2 separate regions of the Homo sapiens genome follow, and region 1 is linked to region 2. Evidence: promoter capture Hi-C in 16 types of primary human blood cells and fetal thymus (Javierre and others, 2016). All regions are on one chromosome and are shown on one strand. The core of a region is centred on a gene start or on the middle of the fragment in contact, and the rest is flanking DNA. Distances in the headings are between cores, read along the strand shown.

The links. Contacts are between HindIII fragments. The CHiCAGO score rates a contact against its expected background, and 5 or more counts as called.
Region 1: a fragment that was not itself captured here is called in contact with the fragment with the promoter of CALHM3 in region 2 in 5 of 17 cell types (M2 macrophages, M1 macrophages, naive CD8 T cells and 2 more); the score reaches 6.9 in M2 macrophages.

The regions. Positions count from the first base shown.
Region 1 is chr10:103,412,376-103,420,019 of GRCh38, forward strand. PDCD11 (programmed cell death 11) reads left to right here. Exons shown (of 36, transcript NM_014976.2): 9 at 741-947; 10 at 1,591-1,715; 11 at 1,895-1,955; 12 at 2,630-2,776; 13 at 4,116-4,367; 14 at 5,417-5,557; 15 at 6,065-6,259; 16 at 7,163-7,333. Among named protein-coding and RNA genes, the nearest start is that of PDCD11, 20 kb to the left of the region's middle. The HindIII fragment of the contact is 2,714 bases long and covers 530-3,243 here.
Region 2 is chr10:103,476,256-103,483,061 of GRCh38, forward strand. CALHM3 (calcium homeostasis modulator 3) reads right to left here and starts at 2,985. Exons shown (of 3, transcript NM_001129742.2): 1 at 2,491-2,985; 2 at 39-294. The coding sequence starts at 2,777. It overlaps NEURL1-AS1 (NEURL1 antisense RNA 1), which reads right to left. Exons shown (of 4, transcript NR_120675.1): 4 at 3,348-3,742. RefSeq lists enhancers at 1-648, 649-1,543. The HindIII fragment of the contact is 14,732 bases long and covers 1-6,806 here.

The DNA of each region.
Region 1 (7,644 bases), core at 637-3,136, 65 kb before region 2:
AGTGGCGTGATCTTGGCTCACTGCAGTCTCCGCCTCTTGGGTTCAAGCGATTCTCCTGCTTGAGCCTCCTGAGTAGCTGGGATTACAGGTGTGTGCCACCACACCCAGCTAATTTTTTGTATTTTTAGTAGAGACGGGGTTTCACTGTGTTAGCCAGGATGGCCTTGATCTCCTGACCTCGTGATCTGCCTGCTGCCTGCTTCGGCCTCCCAAAGAGCTGGGATTATAGGCATCAGCCACTGCTTCCAGCCTAACTTTTTTTTATTAAAACTAGAGATGAGGTTTCGCCATGTTGGCTGGGCTGTCTCAGACTCCTGATCTCAAGTGATCTGCCCACCTCAGACTCCCAAAGTGCTGGGATTACAGGCGTGAGCCATGATCCCCAGCCTATTTTTGTATTTTTTGTTGAGACAGGGTTTCACTATGTGCGCAGGCTGGTCTCTAACTCCTGAGCTCAAGTGATCCACCTGCCTTGGTGTCCCAAAGTGCTGGGATTACCAGTGTGAGCCACCCATACCTGGCTTGAGTAAGCTTTGATTTAGTCATACATAGTCCCTATGGGACATTTTGATTTTTCTGCATTCTGCTTGAGTGTGGAAGCCAGTTTGAGTACTTACATACTAAGGATGTGAGTACTCACATACCTGGTTAGCATGTGGAAAGGCTTGATGCCTGGAAGGTCTGCTCTAGGGTGCTCCTGTGTGCCTCCTCCTGCTCACCCTGCCCTTCCTTTTGTCTAGGTGAGGGCCTGCATCCTTTGCGTCCATCCTCGAACCAGAGTTGTGCACCTGAGCCTGCGCCCCATCTTCCTACAGCCTGGACGCCCACTCACCCGACTCTCTTGCCAGAACCTTGGAGCAGTGCTGGATGATGTTCCTGTCCAGGGTTTTTTCAAAAAGGCTGGGGCCACCTTTAGGCTGAAGGATGGGGTTCTGGCCTATGCCCGGGTAAGGAGGCCTCTTTGTTTGGTCAGGGATCTTATCACTGGAAGGACTTCTGGAGCACAGGGGGCCATTTCTGCTTCTTTCATTCCTTGATGCTAGTTTAAAATTTTTGGATATTGTAGTTCTAATTCCTGTTCATAGTGATTAGAACAATGTCTATTGACTGTATTAGGATGCCTTAGAACCAGCTTGCCATATCTGATACTTGGTTAATAGTTAAGTATAAGGATGAGTTAGGATCCAGACCAGGGCCCAGCAGAGTTTTTCTTAAAGGGCTATGTCATAAATACTTTAGGCTGTGGGCCCTGTGGTCTCTGTCCTAATTGTTCAACGCTGCTGTTATGGCATGAAAGCAGCCATAGACAGTACGTAAATGAACAGATGGCTGTATTCCAATACAACTTCTATTTACAAAAACAGGCACTAGGCACAGTTGACTGACCTGTGTTCTGGACTTTCCCTGACCTTGCTGAAATTCTGTGATGATAAAGAGCAGTTTTTTAGTGTGAAGAATTACTTAACCAGGCAATCAAAGTACTGTTTTTATGGTACATGATAAGTGTTGAGTCCTCTCTATGGGCTGTAAGGTCTCATTGGCTCAGACCTGTTGTCCCTGGCTTATCCTCAATCACTTGGTACTTTGCAGCTCAGCCATCTCTCTGATTCTAAGAACGTCTTCAATCCTGAGGCCTTCAAGCCAGGGAACACTCACAAGTGTAGAATTATTGACTACAGCCAAATGGATGAACTGGCCTTGCTCTCTCTACGAACGTAAGTCTGTCATTAACAGGTAGGGGTGTAGAGATGTGCACCTGTACATGTTCATATTCCATTTCTCCTGGCTGTGCTTGGGAAGGGTTTTCTTTCTTGCCAGCATGCCTGTGGTAGCCCTGAATTTTAGGCAACCTCTGCCCTAGTTTATTTAATTCTGTGTTTTCTCCTTGTCCTAGGTCTATTATTGAAGCTCAGTACCTTAGATATCATGACATCGAACCTGGGGCAGTGGTAAAGGTAAGACCTCAAGCATATAATTAGGTACTGCCTCACCATCAGGCGTTCTTTAGTTCACGCACAGGTGACTGTCAGCCCGTTAGTCCTCATGTTAACACATTGAATGTCATGTTCCTTGCTTCTGCCTGCTGACTAGAATTTCTTTCTCTTTCTTTGGGTAACTCATAGTTAATTTCAAGGTAAGATCTTACTAGCACCACCCAGCTACACAAAGGCAGTAGATCATAAATCCTGAGATTTGGGATTTGATGGTGGTTAGTAGACCTGATCAAAAGTTAGTCCTGTGATTATTGATCTACCTGGGATATTAGTGAGAAGCCAGTTCCAGGTACCTGTCCTGTCCGACCATTTGGCTCTAATCGAGCAGCTCCCTTTATATGTAGAGTTTATTCCTTAGGAGACCTTGACATAGTCCCTTCCTTTGGGGAATGTATTTTAAGGCACACAGAAAGCACATGCTCACACAGAAAGATGTGAAGGCTCCCATAAATAAAGCTGACAGAATAATCCAGCTCAGTGTGGGGTGTGTGCTTCACCCATGTGCCATCTGGAATAACAGGCACAGTTAGCCCAGGAAGTTGGCTGTGAAGGGGAGGTATGACATGCCTTGTTGTAAGAGGTGGGGGAAAGGCCATTCTTGAGACATTGTGGCAGCTTATCTTTGGATTCTCTAGGGCACAGTGCTAACCATAAAGTCATATGGGATGCTGGTGAAGGTGGGCGAGCAGATGAGGGGCCTGGTACCTCCCATGCACCTGGCTGACATCCTGATGAAGAATCCGGAGAAGAAGTACCACATCGGGGATGAGGTCAAGTGCCGGGTGAGCCTCCTGAAGGGTCTCTTGGGGTTTTGGCTAGATGGGAAGAAAGCAGTTCTCAACTGAAGTTTCTGCCTTTTTCCACAAAGTGAGTGTGTAATGTCTGTAGTGTGTCTTGTGCTGTACCTGGCATTGGGAAGAGAAAAGTGAGTCCCCGTTTTGTGTAGTATAATTGGGAGTTAAAATATTCATACGTGATGAGAGAGCAAGCCAGCCTGTGATCTTTTGCCATGTGGCTTGGTGCAGGTTGTGTGCTGTGGTCACACCTGAGAAAGGGGAGGTGAGGGTGGGCTGGAGCAGCCAGAATTGTTGACGTTATCAGTAGCGACTGCCACGAACAGGACTGCCACGAACAGGTATTCCGTGCCAGTTTCTATGCTAGGCATGTGACAAGCATTATTTCATTTAATCCTTGAAACAACCCTAACAATTAAGCACTATTATCTTCATTTTGCGGGTGGGGAAATTAAAGCTTCGGAAAGCCAACCGTCTTGCCCAGAGTCACACAGCTAATACATGGCAGAACAATTCAGCTCTGTATGACAATAATGTTTTCTAGATTTCTGGCAGAGGTGGAACTTGAAAGGATAGGTAGGATTTGGAAGGTTGGGGAGAGCAAAGGTTGTGTTCTAGGCACAGAAATAGCCCTGGCAAAGCTGCCAAAACATGGGTGATTTATGACAAAGGCTCGAATCCGAAGGAAAGCTTCATAGGGTTGTGAAGATCCAACATGATGATGCACACAAGAGTGCTCCACGGGCAGGCACTCAGCATGTTAGATTTTCCGGTATTCAGTTTATCTCATCGTTATTGACTCAGCAGAGGTAATGATTGCCCATTGGTGCAAAATTTTACAGTAGTGGGATCAAGGGTTAAAAATACTTTTTCTGTCTTTAAGGAGATGACCTTCTGAAGGGGTGAAAGACAGTTGCATCTCCATCTTATTTCATAGCTAATAAACGGCAGTACTAAGGTGGTAAATTGGTTCATCATTGGTTCTGTTAGACTAGATGCAAAGCCCACTAGGAAGGAGCCAAGATGGTGTAGAAGTTAGTGTAACCAAGACTCCATAGAGGTGATGTAAGATAATTAATGTTGCTTCATGGTCAGGAGAGGGTAGTTTGCAGCAATTTATGGGAGGAATTACATTTGAAATAGTGATTTGTATGCTCCAGATTGTCATACAGCAGGAAGAATCTGCCACTGAGATGATTAGAGGAAAAGCTATAGCAGGTTCTTGGGGAATGGCCCCGTGGCTTTTGGGTTTAAGAGGTTGCAGAGACCAGCTCAGTGGCTCTCATGATAACAGATAACTTGATGACAGCCTGTGTCCCTCCCCTAGGTTTTGCTTTGTGACCCTGAAGCCAAGAAGCTGATGATGACCCTGAAAAAAACCCTGATTGAGTCCAAACTACCTGTCATTACCTGCTATGCCGATGCCAAGCCTGGTCTGCAGACACATGGCTTCATCATCAGGGTCAAGGACTATGGCTGCATTGTGAAGTTCTACAACAATGTGCAGGGACTGGTGCCCAAGCATGAGCTCAGTACTGAGTATATCCCTGACCCGGAGAGAGTTTTTTACACTGGCCAGGTAACCCTTCCCCTAGACAGGTCCCCTTTACCCTTGGTGACCCCACAAACACAAATATGAAGGAGCAGTAAGTAGTGGGGCTGCCTTTAGGAGGCTGAGGAAGAGAGCACATGGGGCAGTGGGTGTGAGCCGGCTAAATGGAGGAGACGGGGAACAGAACAGAGAGAAAGCCTCAGCGGGGTTCAGCAGAAGCTGGCAAGCTGATGGATCTCAGGCACGCATGGAAGAGGTCAGTCTTTACTTGTAATAAACCTGTGCCTCTCATATCGGAAATTGTTTTGAGGTCACTGTCACCACATGGGGGCAGTGCTGTAAAACTAGTAAGTCTTGGTATCACTAGGAAAAGCATTTTTTTATTCCTTTAAACGACTTTAAACAGATAGATAATAATTGTACATATTTATGGGGTACAATATGATATTTCTTTTTTCTTTTCCTTTTTTTTTTTGAGACAGAGTTTCCTCTGTCACCCAGGCTGGAGTGCAATGGCGTGATCTCAGCTCACTGCAACCTCCACCTCCCAGGCTCAAGTGATTCTCGTGCTTCAGCCACCCAAGTAGCTGGGACTACAGGCATGTGCCGGCATACCCGGCTAATTTTTGTATTTTTAGTAGAGATGGGATTTTGCCATGTTGGCCAGGCTGGTCTCGAACTCCCTGGCTTCAAGTGATCAGCCTGCCTTGGCCTTTCAAAGTGCTGGAATTACAGGCCTGAGCCACTAAGCCTGGCCACCATGTGATATTTCAATACATGCTTACAATGTGTAACGATCAAACCAGGGTAATTAGCATCTCCATCACCTCAAAAAGAAAAATAATTTTTAAGACTTGGATTGTACAAAAAAAGTTACTTATGTCTTCCATTTATCCCAAAGGCTGCCCTGGGGGATTGTGTAGCTCTCAGTGCATTTCTTCTTTTCACTGCCTCCTGATCTGATCCAAAGGCTCGGTAGATCTCCCAAGTCCTCTGCAGCAGTAGTGGAGGGCACGTTGCAGGGCCTGCAAGGCTTGCTGGGAGGAGTTGGCCAAGCCTGTGTGGTTTCTTGCCAGGTGGTGAAGGTTGTCGTATTGAACTGTGAGCCATCCAAAGAGAGGATGCTCTTATCCTTCAAGCTGTCGAGTGATCCAGAGCCAAAGAAAGAGCCTGCAGGACACAGTCAGAAGAAAGGAAAAGCCATTAACATTGGGCAGGTACGTGGACTTCTCTGGACAAGCTATTTTATGTTACAGTGGCAGAGAGCAGGGAACCACTAACACATGGCATATTGGAACCCACGAAGCGGAAAGATAGAGGTAGCTAGATAAGATTTTGGGGCTAGAGGGGTTCATACGCATTCCTTCCTGTGTGTCAGAACAAATGGAAGCTGTCCCTGAAAGTCCTGTTACAGTGAGGCTTTTCAGCAGTGGGCTGCTGACCTCTTTCCTCTCGGGTCCCTAGGGCCAGCCTGCAGTTCTGGCTTTCCTGGGGCTCCGTGGAGGGACTTGAGAGAGGAGTGCGATGGGTCCACCCATGAGTCCTGGTGAATGTGCACGTACATGCATGCTGGGTGGTTGGGGTGGTGGGTGGGGTTTGGAAGAAAGCTGCCTCTTAGAGATCCTTGGTGCCGGAGTTTAATGCCTCCAAGCCCTGCCTAATCCAGACCAGGTTGTTCTCTGTTCATGACAAGTGCTATTTTTGTCTTTCTCTTCCCTGGGTAGTTGGTAGATGTGAAGGTTTTAGAGAAGACCAAAGATGGGCTGGAGGTGGCTGTCCTGCCCCACAACATCCGTGCTTTCCTCCCCACATCTCATCTGTCGGACCACGTTGCCAACGGCCCATTGTTACATCATTGGCTCCAGGCAGGTGACATCCTTCACCGAGTCCTGTGTCTGAGCCAGAGCGAGGGGCGTGTTGTATCCTTGACTGGTATCTGTGGAGCAGAGGAAGGTGGGGGGCCATGGGTGCTTGGATGGGAAATTCTGGGGAAATTAGACAGCTATTTGACCTCAGAAATATCTCCACAAAACCAAACCAGTGATGAAGCCTGTGCTATGGAAAGTAAGAGCAGGCCTGAGTAAGTGCTGCCAGCAGATGCTGGTGGTCAGGGCGGAGTAGCCTGAAAGGTTGCAGAGAGGGGGACTCTCGGAGGCTGGAGAAGGAGGCCCAGTGGGGTGCTTGGGAGCACATCTAGTTTTCTTGGGGCTTTCAGTGCCTGCCCCTTGGGTTAGAACCAATAATAAGGTGGCTTCTGTCCCCCTTTCCTCTTTTTTTTTTTCCCCTATGCCTTCTCCCCGCGGGGCTATAGGCTCAGGAATATTCCCTTTGGTCTTTGCATGGGTGCTTTGAAGGAGCTTCTCACAGAATGTAAAGTTCATTCTCCTGGGAGTAAAAATGGGCAGAGGAGGGAAAATGAGTTCATCAGTGTAAAGAGGGAGTAGTAGAGGATTGTGTGATGGCTGATCCAGCTGCCAGACCAGGGGGATGAGCCATCCCTTTTTGGTGTCCTCTAGTAATCTGCAGATTAGTGAATCGGGAATGGAATAAAACCGTGATTCTCAGCTGTAGTGTGCAGTTGGGCCATGCAGATGGCTGGGCCACACCAAAGTTTCTAATTCAGTAGGTCTAGGTGGTGCTTGAGAACTTGCATTTCTCCTAAGTTTCAGGCGATGTTGATGCTGCTGGTCTGCACACTTAGAGAATCGCTGTAGCAGCAGAGATCAGCCTGCAGTTCTGTCCTTCTCTGTGGAGAAAGGAGATGGGAGAGATGGACATTTCATCTGCCCTTTCTGGAACATTCCTTGATGAAGTACCACTAGCTTCTTTGCAGGAAGCCAGCCTTGGTCTCCACAGTAGAAGGTGGCCAGGATCCCAAGAACTTCTCAGAAATCCATCCTGGAATGCTGCTCATTGGTTTTGTGAAGAGCATCAAGGACTATGGCGTGTTCATCCAGTTCCCCTCAGGTCTTAGCGGACTGGCCCCAAAAGCTGTAAGTTCAACTCCATGTACAAGGGCTTTGAGGAGAGATACAAGGTCACAGAACCTGAGGGCGGGTAGGGAGGAGTAGGATACTTTATTCCTTTTTTTTTTGAGACAGTCTTGTTCTGTCGCCCAGGCTGGCTTGCAGTGGTGTGATCTCTGCTCGCTGTAACCTCCGCCTCCTGGGCTCAAGCGATTTTCCTGCTTCTGCCTTCCAAGTAGCTGGGATTACAGGTGCCCACCAACATGCCAGGCTTTTTTTTTTTTTTTTTTTTGAGTAGTAGAGACAGAGTTTTACCATGTTGGCCAGGCTGGTCTTGA
Region 2 (6,806 bases), core at 1,735-4,234:
TGAGGGTGCAAGGGCCGGGGGAGGATCACCCCAGTTACCTGTGACAGGCACCGCAGGTAGCGAGACACTGCCTTCCGAGCAGGGCTATCCCTGACCAGCTCATCCTCCTTGCAGGGAACCTTGGCCAGGAAGAGCTGTACCTGGCTGGGGGTCATGTTGGCAAAGTCCAGAAACTTCTCAGGGTCCACAGAGCTGCTGAAGGCACACACGAAGCACTTCCCGTCAAGGAGGGCCAGCAGGATCCAGACCAGGGGGGCGGCCAGCGCCCTCTGCAGCACAGAGGAGCACATGTACCTGGCAGCAGAGGAAGGAGGGGGGTCAAGGGGCAGCTGGAAGTCAGCTGCAGCAGGGGAGGTGCAAGGATGGACTGCTGGGAAGTCCCAGGCTGGGTTACATCAGACTGCAGCTCCCAGTGTAGAGGTCCCAGTGACAGAGACAGGCAGAAAGGAGGGCAGGGGCCCCTGGGATCCCCAGGACTGGAGCACTGAGGACTTGGTATTCCTCTTGCCCTAGGCCTTACAGCAGACACTGCTGGTGCCCTGCCCATGCCAGAGGCATCTGTGGGTGCAGTGGCTGGTTCTATTCACCTGGAGGGCCTGAGGGCCTCCTACCTCAAGCATCTGCATTGTTCTGCCCCTGGGGCTTTGGAGGATTTTTTGCTCCAGAGAGGGGTAGGCTGGAAGCACTGAAAAGTTAACCCCCAAATCAACCTTCAACCCCAGAGGGATGGGGCCTTGTGGATAAATATCCCAGCTTCTTAAATCCTCAGTGGGAAAATTCTGAGATGTGTTCTATGCATGCCCTTAGGGGGTCCCCTGAAGGATTAAGCCCCAGTTGCCCACTCATTATCACATTCTTTCAGAGCCTGCTTTTGGAGGAGAGCCTAAGCTAAGACAGCCCTGCCCAGTAACCCTCCAAAAGCAGCACCTCTAACACCCCTACCCACAAGGCATCCCAGGAGCCCACCCTCTGACCGGCCTCAGGCGCCTTTCCAGATCAACTCTGCCCCTGCCTGTAGTGACCTCGACTGGGTATTGGCCACAGGACAGGAGCCCAGTGGAGCTGTGCCCACTGGACCCCAGAGGAAAAGGCCAAGGACACACCCAGTGCCTGTGACCCACCCTGCACAGCTGAATTGCAGGGAGATGTGATCCCTGAGAACATGGAACAGAGGCTGAGGGTGCACCGGATGCAGATGTTGTTTCTGAATTGGATTGTACACAAAACATCCAATGGTGTGTGCCAGGTGTGTGCGTGCATGGCCTACCCAGTGTGAGCTGTAAATATGTTCTAGGCAGTGGTGGCTTTAGCATTTTCTTTTCTTTTTTTGTCTTTTTTGAGTCTTGCTCTGTCGCACAGGCTGGAGTGCAGTGGCACGATTTCAGCTCACTGCAACCTCTGCCTCCCAGGTTCAAGCGATTCTCCTTCCTCAGCCTCCTGAGTAGCTGGGACCACAGGTGCCCAACACCACGCCCAGCTAATTTTTTATATTTTTTAGTAGAGATGGGGGTTTTGCCATGTTGGCCAGAGTGGTCTCGAACTCCTGACCTCAGGTGATCCACTCGCCTCGACCTCCCAAAGTGCTGGGATTACGGGTGAGAGCCACCGCGCCTGGCCCCCCCACCCAATCTCTGGCTCCTTATTTTCCCCCAAGGCTAGCCATAGAAACTAGAATCCATCTTCCCCAAGGTGGGTCATAGAAACCAGAACTCCTTTTCTCCAAAGCTGCCACCATAAAACCTAAAAATATGATTCTAATTTCCCCCCGCCTTTCTGTCTGAAAACTGGCCGTAAAGAAATGATCTGACCTACCTAGTTTCATTGTAGATCATAAGACTCCCTTCTAGAGAGGGTCCTGCCCCGTGTCTGGGAGAAAGGAACACTGTATAGAGAGGCCAAGAAGAACCTAGATGGCCTTGCTGAGTTTCCCCACTCCGTCTATAACATCAGTTCATCCCTTTTTTAATCCAATTCTATTTCTGCGTGGCTATCCAAACCTTGTTGAACCTAAGCATAAAAATGAACCATTTCCTCTGTATCTTTAGGTCTTTATTCTGAAGGTTCTGTGGCACATAAAACGGTAATCAAATAAATTTGTATGCCTTTTCTCTTATTAATCTGCCTTTTGTCAGTTGATTTTCAGCAGAGCTTCAGAGGGCAAAGAGGAAGTTTTCCCGCAGCCCCTAGAGTGGCCTGGGTAATTGGGAATCCTGTGTCATTCCTATGTTTACAGCACTGGCCACGGAAAGGTGACAAACGATAGGAACAGAAATATGTTTCCAGAGTGGAAACTGGCAAGTGGCTCTCTGTGAGCCGATAATTCCTAGTTGGGGAAAGGAGAGGGCGCACCTGGCAGTACCTGTAGGGTGGGTGGAGAATCCCCTGATAATGAGAATGGTTGGGGTCTGGGGGTGCACTTGACAGTGCCTGTGGGGTGGCTGGGGAGCCCCTGGCAAAGCTCATGGGTCACTGAGTGGTGTGGGACCGCACCTGATGATGCCTGGGTCCTTCCTCCGGTGCCCTGCGGGCCGGCGCCACTCCTCGACCATCACCACAGACTGCCGGTTGGCGAGGAGGCCGCAGAGAAACAGGGCGAGCGGGGGCGTCAGCAGCAGGCCCAGGCCGTAGAGTGCATTGTAGTGCACCAGGCAGGGACAGTTGAAGTCAAAGGAGGAGTACAGCTTGACGGTGACCGCAGCCAGCAGCAGGCAGATGCCATTCATCACCGACTCCGAGCTTGACTGGAAGTGCTGGAAGAGCATGCGGAATTTATCCATGGCTCCAGCCTGGGTGGGTGGGCGGCCGTCGGTTCGGCTCAGTGAGGCTCTGGCCACCTTCCTGGTGTCTGCTGTGCTGGGGACGAGCCTGGGATCTGCAAGAGGTTCTCTCTCTGCTTCCAAGGGCCTGAGGGGCCAAGGAGGAAGCAGTGCCCAGGCCCCAGCCCAGGCTCCCGGGATCCAGTAGGCACTTAAGGCAGGGACAGGCTCTCACCACAAAGGCTCCCCTGCCCAGCCCAATGGTCCCCTGGTGCCACTCCCCTCCTGTCTGGGGGAGTGAGTCACCCTCTGTGACCGGGCAGCCCAAAGCACCTCTAGGCAAATGGGCCCCGCCCTGTCACTCCATTCCTCCCGGCCCATTTCTCTTTGCTTTACGGTCTGGATGCTCAGGCTTGACAGCCGTTGGAGCTTCCTTCGGGGGACAGGCAAATTCTGGGTGTGGTGAGGAAAAGATGCTGATGGAGCCAAGGTAGTATATTTTCTGGTCTTGATCAAAAGCATGACTCTGAACTTGTCTCACAGGCATAGTAAAACAACAGCAACAACAACAACAAAATATGACGACTCAGCTCAGCCCAGGGAGATTTCATGTTGGCTTTCAGGCTAGGAGGAGCCAGAAGGGGCACCTATTCCTGACCGAAGGCTTCCTGGAAGAGGAGACCCTTGAGAGGAGTCTTCAACGATGTTTCAGCATTTGCCATGAAAGGGGTAGCGGAAGGGGATGGCCTCCCTGGGCGACGTGCTAAACATTGTGCATTAACCACTGGGTGCCCATGGGAGAGGCTGCTCAAGTGCCACGCCCACACCTGCATGGCTTTCCCCCTGCCCTTCTTCCGTGTGAGGGGCATGCGTTTGAAATCACTGCTTCTTCTCCTAACTCTCCCACATCACTAGGTCTCTCCTTGTGTCTCAGTTCCAGTCTCTCCGAAGGATGACAGCCCAGATGTTTGAGGGACCCCTGAAACCTGCAAAACGAATTTTGTAAAGGTCACTTGGCCCATATTGTAAGTCAGATCATCCCAAATAAGTCTTGCAAATTTCGTAACCATCTGTGTGGTCTGTACTTCTGATGAAGACAGACAGAAACCTGGGTCTTACTTATTATTATTATTATTATGAGATAGAGTCTTGTTCTGTCACCCAGGCTGGAGTGCAGTGGCACGATCTTGGTTCACTGCAGCCTCTGCCTCCCGGGTTCAAGTGATTCTCCTGCCTCAGCTTCCAAGTAGCTGGGATTACAGGCACCCACCACCACGCCCAGCTAATTTTTGTATTTTTAGTAGAGACAGGGGTTTTGCCATGTTGGTCAGGCCGGTCTCGAACTCCTGACCTCAGGTGATTTGGCCCCCTTGGCCTTCCAAAGTGCTGGGATTACAGGCATGAGCCACTGAGCCTGGCCACTTAGTATTTTTATTTTCCATATTTGTACGTTACTCTAGGTCCTATGAGACAGATTTCCCTGTGTGAGGGAAATGAGGCACTGGAGAAGATGGGGAGAGCCACCAGTGGCCCTGTGAGTCTGACTCTGAGCGGAGGAGAGGGCGGGGCAGGGGTGAGAAACCCTTCAAGCCAGGAGGACCACCACAACTTCAGGTGGGTACAGTCCCAGAGGGGCTGTTGGAGGTCACATACCCTGGCGGGGACAGAGCCAGGGAGGAAGCTGGGATCCTCCATCTGTGCCTTTCAGCCTTAGTCACCCACTGGGCTGCTGACCAGAAAAGGGGACTGTCCTGGCCCAAGGCCAGGCTTCGTGACCCTGAACCAGCAGGGCTGGTGTGGAGCAGGCGGGGAGCTAACTGGGCTGGGAGGGTCATGAGCACCCCTCAATCCCATTCTAGTCTCAGGGAGGGATAGAGTGTCCTAAGGGTCCCCAGCCACTCTAACCTTGAGAGTTCAGAAAACAATAGACAATGCTTCTGGAAGAACACTTTGAAGAAAACTGGGTCAAAGACTCCAGGCCAACCTTTTCACAGCTCCAGCCTCTGAGAGGTAAGACAGAGCTACCAGGTCAGCCTGGGTCCCTGGAGCCCTGCAGGGCAACAGGTGCTGAGTGACTGCAGCGGGGCTGACCCTTGCCGGGTATTTACAGGAAATACTTCAGTAAAGAAACAGGCCAGAAAGAAGCCCACCACAAAAGGGATATTATCTGTCAAAGAGAGGGGATGGCTTACATTTTTTTTTAAATCTCTATTTTCTGAATTGTCGACTTTTATAATAGTAGACATAATAAATCATTACTATAATCATAATAATGATTTTTAACTATTTCCAGCAAAAATCATAAAACATTTTAATTAGAAAAACATAAAAAGATAAAAGGACAAGGCAAAAAGGAGAATTCCATTTTGTTGCCTGGAGCTTGGCCCTGCTGAACTAGTAGAGAGAGAACTAGAGGCAGCAATAAATGGAGAAAGGCTTCTTTTACTCACACATATGGAAAGATATTAAATTGCAGATCTGGCCGGGCGTGGTGGCTCACGCCTGTAATCCCAGCACTTTGGGAGGCCGAGGCAGGCAGATTGCCTGAGCTCAGGAGTTTGAGACCAGCCTGGCCAACATGGCAAAACCCCATCTCTATTAAAAATACAAAAAATTAGTCGGGCATAGTGGTGCATGCCTGTAATCCCAGCTACTTGGGAGGCTGAGGCTTGAGAATTGCCTCTCTTGAGGCTGAGGCATGAGAATTGCTTGAACCCAGGAGGCGGAGGCTGCAGTGAGCCCAGATCATGCCACTGCTCTCCAGCCTGGGCAACAAAGAGAGACTAAAAATAAATTACATTTTTCTTTTTAATAATGATTTAATCTTTTTTTTTTTTTTAAAACCAGTTGTAAATATGTGTTAATTTGCAATTGGAAGATCTTTATAGAATAAATCTTTGGTACTTTCTTCATGTTATTTTGTTTTATTTTCAAATTGGAGTCTTGCAGATATATTCTTGGGGGTCTTCCAGTTTTTTTTGATCTTTGCAAAGGAGTCTGGATATTATTTGAGAAACACTGGCTTCACCGTTCTTGGAGTTCCTGTTATTGAGAGGGCTGTTTAGGACTAGATGCCCCCTACTGGAGAAACTCGTTGTATGTGATGTGTGAGAGATGTGTCTATGTACCTGTGTATGCATGTGTGTACACATGTATGTGTATGTGCGTAGTGCATGTGTACATATTTGGTGTGTGTATGCATGTGTGTTTTCATACATATGGGTGTGGCCGTCTTCCTACTTTGTATATGGTGAGTATGCCCTCCCCTGACAGTTCTTTCTTTTCTTTTTCCTTCACAGGGAAGGCATTGAACGTGCGTCCCACTTCTCAGGACTGGGAGACTGTTGTTCTGTGTGTCTAGCAGAGGGTGGTGCCCTTTCTGTCTCTCGGTGGCGTGATTCTCTGCTTCCCTGAGGACACAGGCCTTTGAGCGGTCCTGGCAGACCCGGGGAAAGCAACGTGGCACTTCTGTGGGCCCCACTCTGGTGACTCCACAGAGCCGTGTAGCCCTAAGGGCAGAGACAGGCTGGAAATGAAATGGGGCCATCTAACAGATGGCGCTGGAACAACTGGCTAGCCATTCGGGAGCAATCTCTACTTCATGCTTCATACCAAAATAATTTTCACATGGTTCAAAGATTCAACATAAAAATTAAAATCATAAAAATTCTACAGGAAAACGTAAGGGAATTTATTCATAATCAGAGGCTAAGGAAGGCCTTTGTGAACAGACCCCAGAATTTAGTAGCTGTAGAGGAGTAGATGGACAAGTAAGAGTCATAAAAACTAGACGCTTCTATGGGCAAACATACCAATAAACAAAATAAAAATAACAAACTGAAGGAAGGGTATTTGCCACACAAAGGCCTCTTTTTCTTAATTTGCAGAAGGCTCATATAAATCAATCCAAAAGACGAACAATCCTCTAGAAAAATGGGTAAAGGATTTGAACAGGTTATTTGCAAAAAAAAAAAAAAAAAAAAAAAAAGAGAGAGAGAGAGAAAAGTGACCAAACATCCTGAAAAAATTCTAATCCTCATTCATAATTAA